Linked DNA regions of Homo sapiens: all the other regions are linked to region 3. Evidence: promoter capture Hi-C in 16 types of primary human blood cells and fetal thymus (Javierre and others, 2016). All regions are on one chromosome and are shown on one strand. The core of a region is centred on a gene start or on the middle of the fragment in contact, and the rest is flanking DNA. Distances in the headings are between cores, read along the strand shown. Region 1 has its middle 13 kb from the start of THG1L. Region 2 overlaps LSM11 (LSM11, U7 small nuclear RNA associated). Region 3 holds the start of ITK (IL2 inducible T cell kinase).

What was found. Contacts are between HindIII fragments. The CHiCAGO score rates a contact against its expected background, and 5 or more counts as called.
Region 1: a fragment that was not itself captured here is called in contact with the fragment with the promoter of ITK in region 3 in 1 of 17 cell types (M0 macrophages); the score reaches 7.1 in M0 macrophages.
Region 2: a contact is called between a fragment that was not itself captured here and the fragment with the promoter of ITK in region 3, in 8 of 17 cell types (fetal thymus, activated CD4 T cells, total B cells and 5 more). The highest score is 8.1, in fetal thymus.

Annotation. Positions count from the first base shown.
Region 1 is chr5:157,717,277-157,720,445 of GRCh38, forward strand. No RefSeq gene overlaps it. Among named protein-coding and RNA genes, the nearest start is that of THG1L, 13 kb to the right of the region's middle. The HindIII fragment of the contact is 2,199 bases long and covers 173-2,371 here.
Region 2 is chr5:157,745,177-157,748,270 of GRCh38, forward strand. The region is part of intron 1 of LSM11 (LSM11, U7 small nuclear RNA associated); the gene reads left to right. Among named protein-coding and RNA genes, the nearest start is that of LSM11, 3.0 kb to the left of the region's middle. The HindIII fragment of the contact is 899 bases long and covers 1,162-2,060 here.
Region 3 is chr5:157,179,507-157,182,362 of GRCh38, forward strand. It overlaps ITK (IL2 inducible T cell kinase), which reads left to right and starts at 1,334. Exons shown (of 17, transcript NM_005546.4): 1 at 1,334-1,609. The coding sequence starts at 1,472. The HindIII fragment of the contact is 39,229 bases long and covers 1-2,856 here.

The DNA of each region.
Region 1 (3,169 bases), core at 22-2,521, 540 kb after region 3:
CCCTAGTATCCACTAATAAAGAGTGGCAATAGATTATATTATTACTCAAAAGTATTCACTTTCCTCTTCTCTATGGGAAGATGACACACTCTTCCCCTATAATCTTAGCGCTTGGCCATATTGCTTCAGCAAACATATTGTGAGCAGCAAGATGCACATTGTGCGGTGTAGAAGCTTTTCTAATCATTTCCTGGGTTTTGGGGTAAGACACAGGGATCAAAACAGCTATCAGGAATATAACCATAGTCAACTGGCAGTACAAGTGACTTGAACAGGAAATAAACTTTTGTTTTACAAACCACTAAAACCTAGGGTTGTTTGTAATTGCAGATTTCCCCAGTGAATTTAGAGCTGTTTTTAATGGTTTTTAGGCCAGTATCCAGTCAAGAGTTTTGCATTGTATTTGGTTGTTATGTCTCTTAAATCTCTTATTCTGGAACAGTCCCCACTTACCTTTTCTATTTTTTTTTTTTTTTTTTTTTTTTTGAGACAGTGTTGCTCTGTTGGCCAGGCTGGAGTGCAGTGGCACAATCTTGGCTTGCTGCAAACTCTGCCTCCCAGGTTCAAGCAATTCTCCTCCCTCAGCCTCCTGAATAGCTGGGATTACAGATATGAGCCACCAAGCTGGCTAATTTTTATATTTTCAGTGGAGACAGGGTTTCCCCATCAAGGCCAGGCTTGTTTCCAACTCCTGGCCTCAAGTGATCCACCCGCCTTGGCCTCCCGAAGTGCTAGGATTACAGGCGTGAGCCACCATGCCCAGCCCTCCACTTACCTTTTCTTTCTTCCCTGTTTCTCCTCCTTTTTCATTTTCCTTTTTTCTCCTAGGACACATGTTCAAAGATATTGTTCTTCTTGATAAAATTTACTTTTGAAGAAGCCAAGTCAGTGATCTTACATAATACCCTGCATCCTGAATATGTCTGATTATGTTCTTTTGGCGTGTGTGTTTTTGTTTTGTTTTGTTTTTTTAAGATGGAGTTTTGCTCTTGTCACCCAGGCTGGAGTGCAATGGTGCTATCTTGGCTCACTGCAACCTCTGCCTCCTGGGTTCAAACGATTATCCTGCCTCAGCCTCCCAAGTAGCTAAGATTACAGGCACTATCAATACAATTGCAATACAATTGCAATCAATTATAGTTATTATTTTTATCAATGCCCAAATTATCGCATATTTGGCCAGTGGGAACCCCTTTAAGCTGGCTCATCTTTTTTGAGATACACTCATTAGTCTGAGCATTTCCTTCCTTTCTGGGACAACACAGTGTCCCAGGCTCGCCTAGAATTTCCTCTGCCACAATGTGGAGCCAGCCATTTCTTCAAGGAGTTTATTTTCATTTTCATGGGGAATGGTAATTTGAAGTTAAGATCTGGATGCTTACTGCTTCTGGAGTGTCATTTTATCTCCACCCAATGGACAGAGCTGGGAAATACACTTTATTTTTTTGAGACATTATCTGGATCTGTCGCCCAGGCTGGAGTGCAGTGGTGAGATCTCAACTCACTGCAAGCTCCTCCTCCCTGGTTCAACCGATTCTCATGCCTCAGTCTCCCGAGCAGCTGGGATTTACAAGCATGCCCCACTATGCCAGGCTAATTTTTGTATTTTTAGCTCAGAGTTTCACCACATTGGCCAGGATGGTCTCAATTTCCTGGCCTCAAGCAATCTGCCCGCCTTGGCCTCCCAAAGTGCTGAGGTTACAGGCATGAGCCGCCGCACTGGGCCTGGAAAATACATTTTTAAAAATCATGAATTCAGGGCCGGGCATAGTGGCTCACACCTGTAATCCCAGCGCTTTGGCATGCGGATAGCTTGAGCCCACAAGTTGGAGACCGGCCTGGTTAACATGGGGAAACCCTGTTTTTTCTTTCTTTCTTTTTTTTTTTTTTGCTTTTAAGGAGCGGAGAGTTTAATAGGTAAGAAGGAAGGGAGAAGACAGAAGAAAGAAGCTCCCCCATACAGAGACACAGGGATGGGGGCTCCAAAGCTGAAAGAGGAGGTCCCCACCTGGCAGGGACACCAGCCAGGTATATATGCAGAGGCTGGAGGTGGTGTTTGATTTGCACAGGGCTCAAGGGATTGGTTTGACTAGGCATGACATTCACGTAGCCTGTAAAAAAGCTGACCCTCCCACCCTAGCCTTTTAATATGCAAATGTAGGGCGCCATGATGTTCTACACTCCTGGGGATATTTGGAGGTGGCCATGTTGCCAGGAACATGTGGGGAAAGGGCAGGAAGGCCACAGGAATCTCCATGTTTGGGTGGGCCCACTTTCTAATGGTCAGTATTTGCATATCAAAGGTTGGTGGGCTGCTGCTAAGAGCCAGGGATTTAAGAGAAACTTTTCCAGAGATGCTTTAAAAAACAAAAGCTTCCCTTGGCCAGGCACGGTGGCTCACGCCTGTAATCCCAGCACTTTGGGAAGCCGAGGCGGGAGGATCACGAGGTCAGGAGATAGAGACCATCCTGGCTAACACAGTGAAACCCCGTCTTTACTAAAAATACAAAAAAAAAAAAAAAAAATTAGCCGGGTGTGGTGGTGGGCACCCGTAGTCCCAGCTACTCAGGAGGCTGGGCCAGGAGAATGGGGTGAACCTGAGAGGCGGAGCTTGCAGTGAGCCGAGATTGCGCCACTGCACTCCAGCCTGGGCAACAGAGTGAGACTCTGTCTCAAAAAAAAAAGAAAAAAAGAAAACTTCCCAAGGACCTCTCTTCCTACAACATTCCCCGCTATGGAGATGCCACACTAACTGCTGTTAGAGGGTTTTGGGTTATGGTTCTTTCTGGCTACTTTCTGCTGAAAAGGGGAGTCACATGGGGGAACAGCAGCTAGGGCTCCTCCTGGGGTGGATCTAAGGGTCCTCAGAAGAATGGCATCTCCATGTGTGTTTCAGTTTACAGCACCGTTTGGAGTTTGATTGCTTCTAGGTGAGAAGAAACAATTTGAGTTATAGTATTGAGTATATAGGCTCCAAATATCAATACAAGACATATAAGCAAGAGAGTGCTTAAAAAAGGGGTTAACCAATTCCATAAAGAAGACTGGAATTTATTAAAAAGGGATTGTAGCCACTCAGAGCTGAAGCTGTCATTTTTCCTGAGCCTGTCAATAATTATGATTTGATTTTTTTTTTTTCTGAGATGGAGTTTTGCTGTTGTTGCCCAGG
Region 2 (3,094 bases), core at 361-2,860, 570 kb after region 3:
CTGCCCTGTGAACACAATGACCTACTTAGCCATTCAAAGCATCTGTATCCTGATAATTAAATTGTTACCTTATTAAGTCACTGTCTTTTGGATGGAGAGGTGTGCCAAGCAAGGGACTGTTTTGCTTCATTCCTAGAAATTTGTTTATTAAGAGAGAACATCCTGAAACGCTCTGTGCTGTTCCGTGTGCCTTCGTTGGATGTCTTACCATGCCACAGCATCCCTGCCCAAGCTAGGATTTACCCCGGCCTGCTTGCCTGGCTGTAACACAAAGACAGTATGCTTGTTCCCAAAATGAGAGCAGTTTGGGGGACCTTAATTTGCCTATGCAATTTGCCACCATTAGGTAGTTGAAATGCACTCCAAGTCTCATTGCAACATTTATTTCTATTTTACCAGTTATTGCTTTGCTACCAAGATTGTCAAGGGAAAGGAATATTCCTGTGTATTGCTATGTGGTGGGTGGTTTTAGCTTTCCCTATAGAGCACTTTACTGTAATGGTATGACAGTGTGTGAAGACCAGCTTTGTCAACTTCTTATGATTAAGTATATATCCCTGGAATCAAGATCTCAGAGAATATGCCCTACATACTGAAAATTTTCACCATGGCACTGCAGACAGTTGAGTGTACATGAGAGAAAGGCATTGACGTCGCACAGAGTTGATGACCTTCAGAAAGCAAGAAAACAACAGAAACATGGGTGAGGATTGGATTCATTCAAGAAAGAGTTCCTACTTGAGGGTGAAGGGTGGGAGGAGGGTGAGAATCACAAAACTACCTATTGGGTACTGTGATCACTACCTGGGTGACAAAATAATTTGTGCACCAAACCCCAGTGACACACGATTTACACCTGCAACAAACCTTTCGTGTACCTCCTGATCCAAAAACAAAAGTTGGAAGGGGGGAAAAAAAAGAACTAGGTATGTTTTATATGTATGCCACAGTTTTAATTTAAAAAAATATATGCCTACTCTAAACTCTGATTGGATACAGTTGCTCAGGAAAATCAAAATATAGATACCAGTAAGATAATACTATTTGTGGACATATACAAATGCTTTCTGGAAAAAAATGCCTATGCATTTGAGAATGCATAATCCTTTGCAAAATATTCACATAAAATGTAAGTTCCATCAGGCTGTAACAGCAAGAAGAAGCTTTGTTAGGTCATATCATCAGTGAAACATAATGAAGAATACATGAGGAGCTACATTTTGTCGCTGACTTTAAAATGATGTATTTCATCAATTCAGATCCAAGTTACCCATCCAAATTCACAGAGAGGACAGTGTGGAATGTTTATGAAAAAACAAGGAGTGCAAAATTAAGTGTAATGGTGTTTTAACTGTAAAATATTTCACTTTGTATCTCTGTCATAGAATCTCTTTGAATTCCCTTGTGGAGCAGTTGTATTCTTTTCCTTGCAGTAATAAAATTTTAAAAGTAGCCAGGCACAGTGGCTCACACCTGTAATCCCAGCACTTTGGGAGGCCGAGGCGGGCAGAACACTTGAGGCCAGGAGTTCAAGACCAGCCTGGCCAACGTGGTGAAACCCTGTCTCTACTAAAAATACAAAAATTAGTTGGGCATGGCAGCATCTGCCTCTAGTTCCAGCTGTTCAGGAGGATGAGGCACGAGAATCGCTTGAACCCTGTAAGTGGAAGCTGCAGTGAGCCGAGATCATAGGGACATCATAGAGACCTCTACAGAGGTGATACGAGGTCTCAAAAAAAAGTAATAATAAAAGTATAGGAGGCTGTTGCAATACTGGGAATACTAAAGAAGAAAAAAAGCATAGGAGGAAAGGTTTTTCGTCATCATTAAGCCTAAGCCATCACTGATACCAACAAAGAACTCACACACAAGCTGTACTTGCAAGTGGAATGCAATTGCTTTTCCTCCTTTTTAATATTGACATGCCTATAGAGATGGTAAGACAAGACTAAAGAGCATTATCCTCTTTTCCACATAATTCTAGTGTCTATATTTCTCCTTAGTATCGCAGCACCATACCTAGCCCACGGTGGTTCTGGTTTATAATTGTGCTTCAAGCAAGCTTTTTCTAGGTATATCTGTCACTGTGAAATGAACTGGTGTGTTCAAGCTCACGTCTTGACATTATAAAGCTGTAAGAAAAAGTGTTATCATTACTTTGTTTTAGCTACAGGTGTGTTGGTGTGCAGCCTGTGCCGGTGTGAACAAGTGTGTGTGGTCAATCCAAAATGCATATGACATGCAGGGTTTGGCTCCTAGACCATTGTCTAGGTGAATGGCTTGTCTCCAGTTCCAAATTCAGTTTTCCTGCAGGGAGCCTACACAGTCCTTTTACTCGCACACATCCTGCTGAGAAGGATTTCAAAACAAACCTGATTTATTGGGCCTCTGACGTGATACCATGATTGAAAATTTGTTTGAGTCCTGTTGTTGTAGTTTACTTTGATTGCTGAAATAATTTCCCACAATATGGTGTCTTGATGTTTTCATTTTAATAAAGTGATATTCTTTGGATAACTTTGACTTCACTTCCTGCAAATAAAGAGCAAGAAAATAGGCAAAATCAAGAACATCTGAGCCCTGTGTACAGCAGTAAAATGAACTCTCAAATTTGAACAGCATCTCTGTTACACAGAGGTTGCCAAAAGGGCATGAGTATGACTTACATAAAACCGAGAACAGCGGTACTTAGGCTTCAGAAAAGGCCAAGCTTAAAATTCAGCCTTGTCACTTTTCTCAGCTCATTGCAGCTGTTTCCAGTCAGCTGTCTCCAGTGCAACTAAGGAATAGTCTCAGATGATTTCTGCACCACACTGCTGTGTGTGTGTGTGTGTGTGTGTGTGTGTGTGTGTTTAGGCCAGTTTGACATAGCATCACAATAGGGAAGACACTGATGTGCCTTTGCCGGGTCACTGATTCAAACATTGTACTTTCAATCTGTCATGGCACCCTTCTATAGAATGGCAACTAAAACTATTTTCAGAGAAAAGAGAAAATATTTTTCCATTGCAGACTCATAAGGTGACTGTTACAGTTTGTGGTTTCATTTCTCTGGGCCCTTAATAGGTTATGGAATCTGGGGAGCTGCCTTTGC
Region 3 (2,856 bases), core at 84-2,583:
AAAGAAAAGGGGATGACAGATCCCACTAAGGAAATTTCCTAGAAGTTGTGCACACGACTTCTGCTACATTCAGTTGACCAGAAGACAGTCATACAACTACACCTAGCTACAAGGGAGGCTAAAATTTGTAGTCTTTATTCTTGCTGGCCAGATGCCCAGATAACTGTCAGGGATTCTGTTACTCTAGTAAGAAGGAGAGAGTAGCTATTTGGGAATAGTAGCAATCCCTACCTCAAGCCCATACTCAGAAAAAAAAAATACTATCTTGTTTGGGCAGTGTATTTCCACACATATGTCTTAAGAATCTCAGAATGGGGGAGGTAATTTAAAATATACCAGTACCGTACCCTCCTGGGTGTCTTGATTATGCTGGGGCATCCAGTATATGAAATAAAATTAGGCTGTTGTCTGGTAATTTACATTTAAAAATAAACATTGGAGAATTTCACTCCTATACAGCAATAATTATTATTTCATTTATTATTTATCCCTACCCACTACATGCAATATCTGCTTACACTAAAATCTCTTGATTATTAACATAGTAGAGGTAACTGTCACACATTATACTTCAACTATGTACTAACTCTAAGGTGACATGTATGACTAGCACCTACCATTCATAAGATGTATGGGATTCAGTCCTCCAAAGGACCCTCACAAGGAAGCTAAGGATCAGAGAAGTCATGGCTTGCTCAAAGAGAAACAGCATAGTAAGTGACAGAGCTGGGAATCCAACACAAGTTTGTCTGTTTTCAAAGCCCACATATACTTTGTTTATTATGCCATTCTGAAGGATTCACTTATTTTTCACTCTTCCACAAAACGTCAGGACAGAAAGGCAGTCATCTATATGTAGCATTGAGAAATTTCTATGGGCTTTAATTTAAATCTTAAAAACTAATAAACTTCAGCAACATATTTCTTCACTTTAATGTGTGAGGGTTTTGTGCTCATTACCTCTTTTAATTGTCCAACCCAATTTGGTGATGATCCATTCAACAAATTTTTCTTGAACATCTGTTTTATGTGTCAGGTACTGTGATGGTTGCTGAGTATATCATGGTAAGCAAAACCACACATTGTCCTTACTCCTTGTGCTACATGATTTAACTGCTGGATGGATTAAACCAGGAACTATAAAGATTAAACTGTAATCCTTACCACAATTTTGAGTTTACAGTTTTTCAAATATCATTTCAAGCCATTAGCAAAGGCTGTATGTATTTTTTACATATGCCTCCTCGTTTTGTGAATTTTGAAAGGATGTGGTTTCGGCCTTTGACATCAGAGGAGAAGCTCAGCTATGTTGGCTGAACGTTGATAGAAAGATAACGTTGAAGGCAAGTTGCCCTTGAGCAGCTCTCTGAAGATCAACTGCCTCCACATTGCATTCTTTGCCCCAAAACTCTTTCCTTTGGTTGTGCTAAGAGGTGATGCCCAAGGTGCACCACCTTTCAAGAACTGGATCATGAACAACTTTATCCTCCTGGAAGAACAGCTCATCAAGAAATCCCAACAAAAGAGAAGAACTTCTCCCTCGAACTTTAAAGTCCGCTTCTTTGTGTTAACCAAAGCCAGCCTGGCATACTTTGAAGATCGTCATGGGGTATGTGAGCAGTTTCATTTGTCTTTTTTCGCATAGCATTTTATGTTTGGACTGGGCTAATGCAAAAATATATACATAGCATAAAATAGAGCACAGGAAACACAAACATGCTTATTGTAACAACATAAAAAGTACAGTAAAAGTAATCAGAGGAGAATGCAGAGAGCAGTCAAGAGGTGAAATGGTGGTGCTAGGTGATTTCAGTTCTAAAAACTGTAAATTTAACATTCATCAGCTTTTTCCCCCTGCAAGGTTATGTTTGGTTTTTAAATTATGAATAACATTTTAGGTAGCAAGTATTATGATTCGATAAAACTTGAACTTTCTATGAAACATACTAAATTTAATGAAACATACTAAATTTAATGAAACATAGATTAATACAACACTAGCATTCAATGGGATGATCTACCCCAGCTTTCTTATTTTTTAGTGGAAGAAACTGGTGTTTAGAATGGTTAAGTTTTGGGTTCAGTGTTAACGTTTTCATGAATAACTCTGTTTGTCTCAATACTCGTCGCTAGCCTGATCTTGAAATAAGATTTCCCAGGCATTTAATTATCTAAAAGTTGTAAGGCACAATGGCAAACCTCTTCATCTCTTGATAGACTTCTTAGGACACCAGGGTTATTAAGAACAAAGTTTCTGCAGTGCAGACCAGCGGTTCTTACCCAGAAGGAGTATGGCTGCTTTGCTAGGTCAGTCTATCTCTTTATCTAAAAATAGTCTTGTGCTTCTTAACATCACTAATAACAAAAGCAACAGGAATAATCCTAATAATGTAGTTTGGTAGAAAAAGCATTGGACAAAGGGTCAGGAGACCAAACTCTACTTCTCAGTAGGTGATCCAGTCTGGGCAAATGTCTACCTCCTGTTTCAGGTTCTTTCTTCATAAAATGAAAAAACTGGAAATAACAACCTTCAAGATCCCTTTCTTCTTCAAAACTTCTTTGCTTTATGCAGTGGCTCTTGTTTAGCCCTATGCTGCAATTTTTCAAAGCATGTTTGATTTCTTACTGTATGGTTATATTATTTTTACATCATTAGTGGGGTAGGACAAGGATTATCACTTATATTTTACTGAAGGGAAAATAATATTAGGTGCCTGATGGTCACTTAGAAACAAAAGTGCTCCAGTTCTTTGTTGGAGTCTGACTTAGTAGGTGGTGGCATGAGTTTGGGATTCTTTGGTGTGCCAGGGTTTAAAGCACTTCATGAGATGGAGCTCCAGAGGAGGTCAGGCTGGG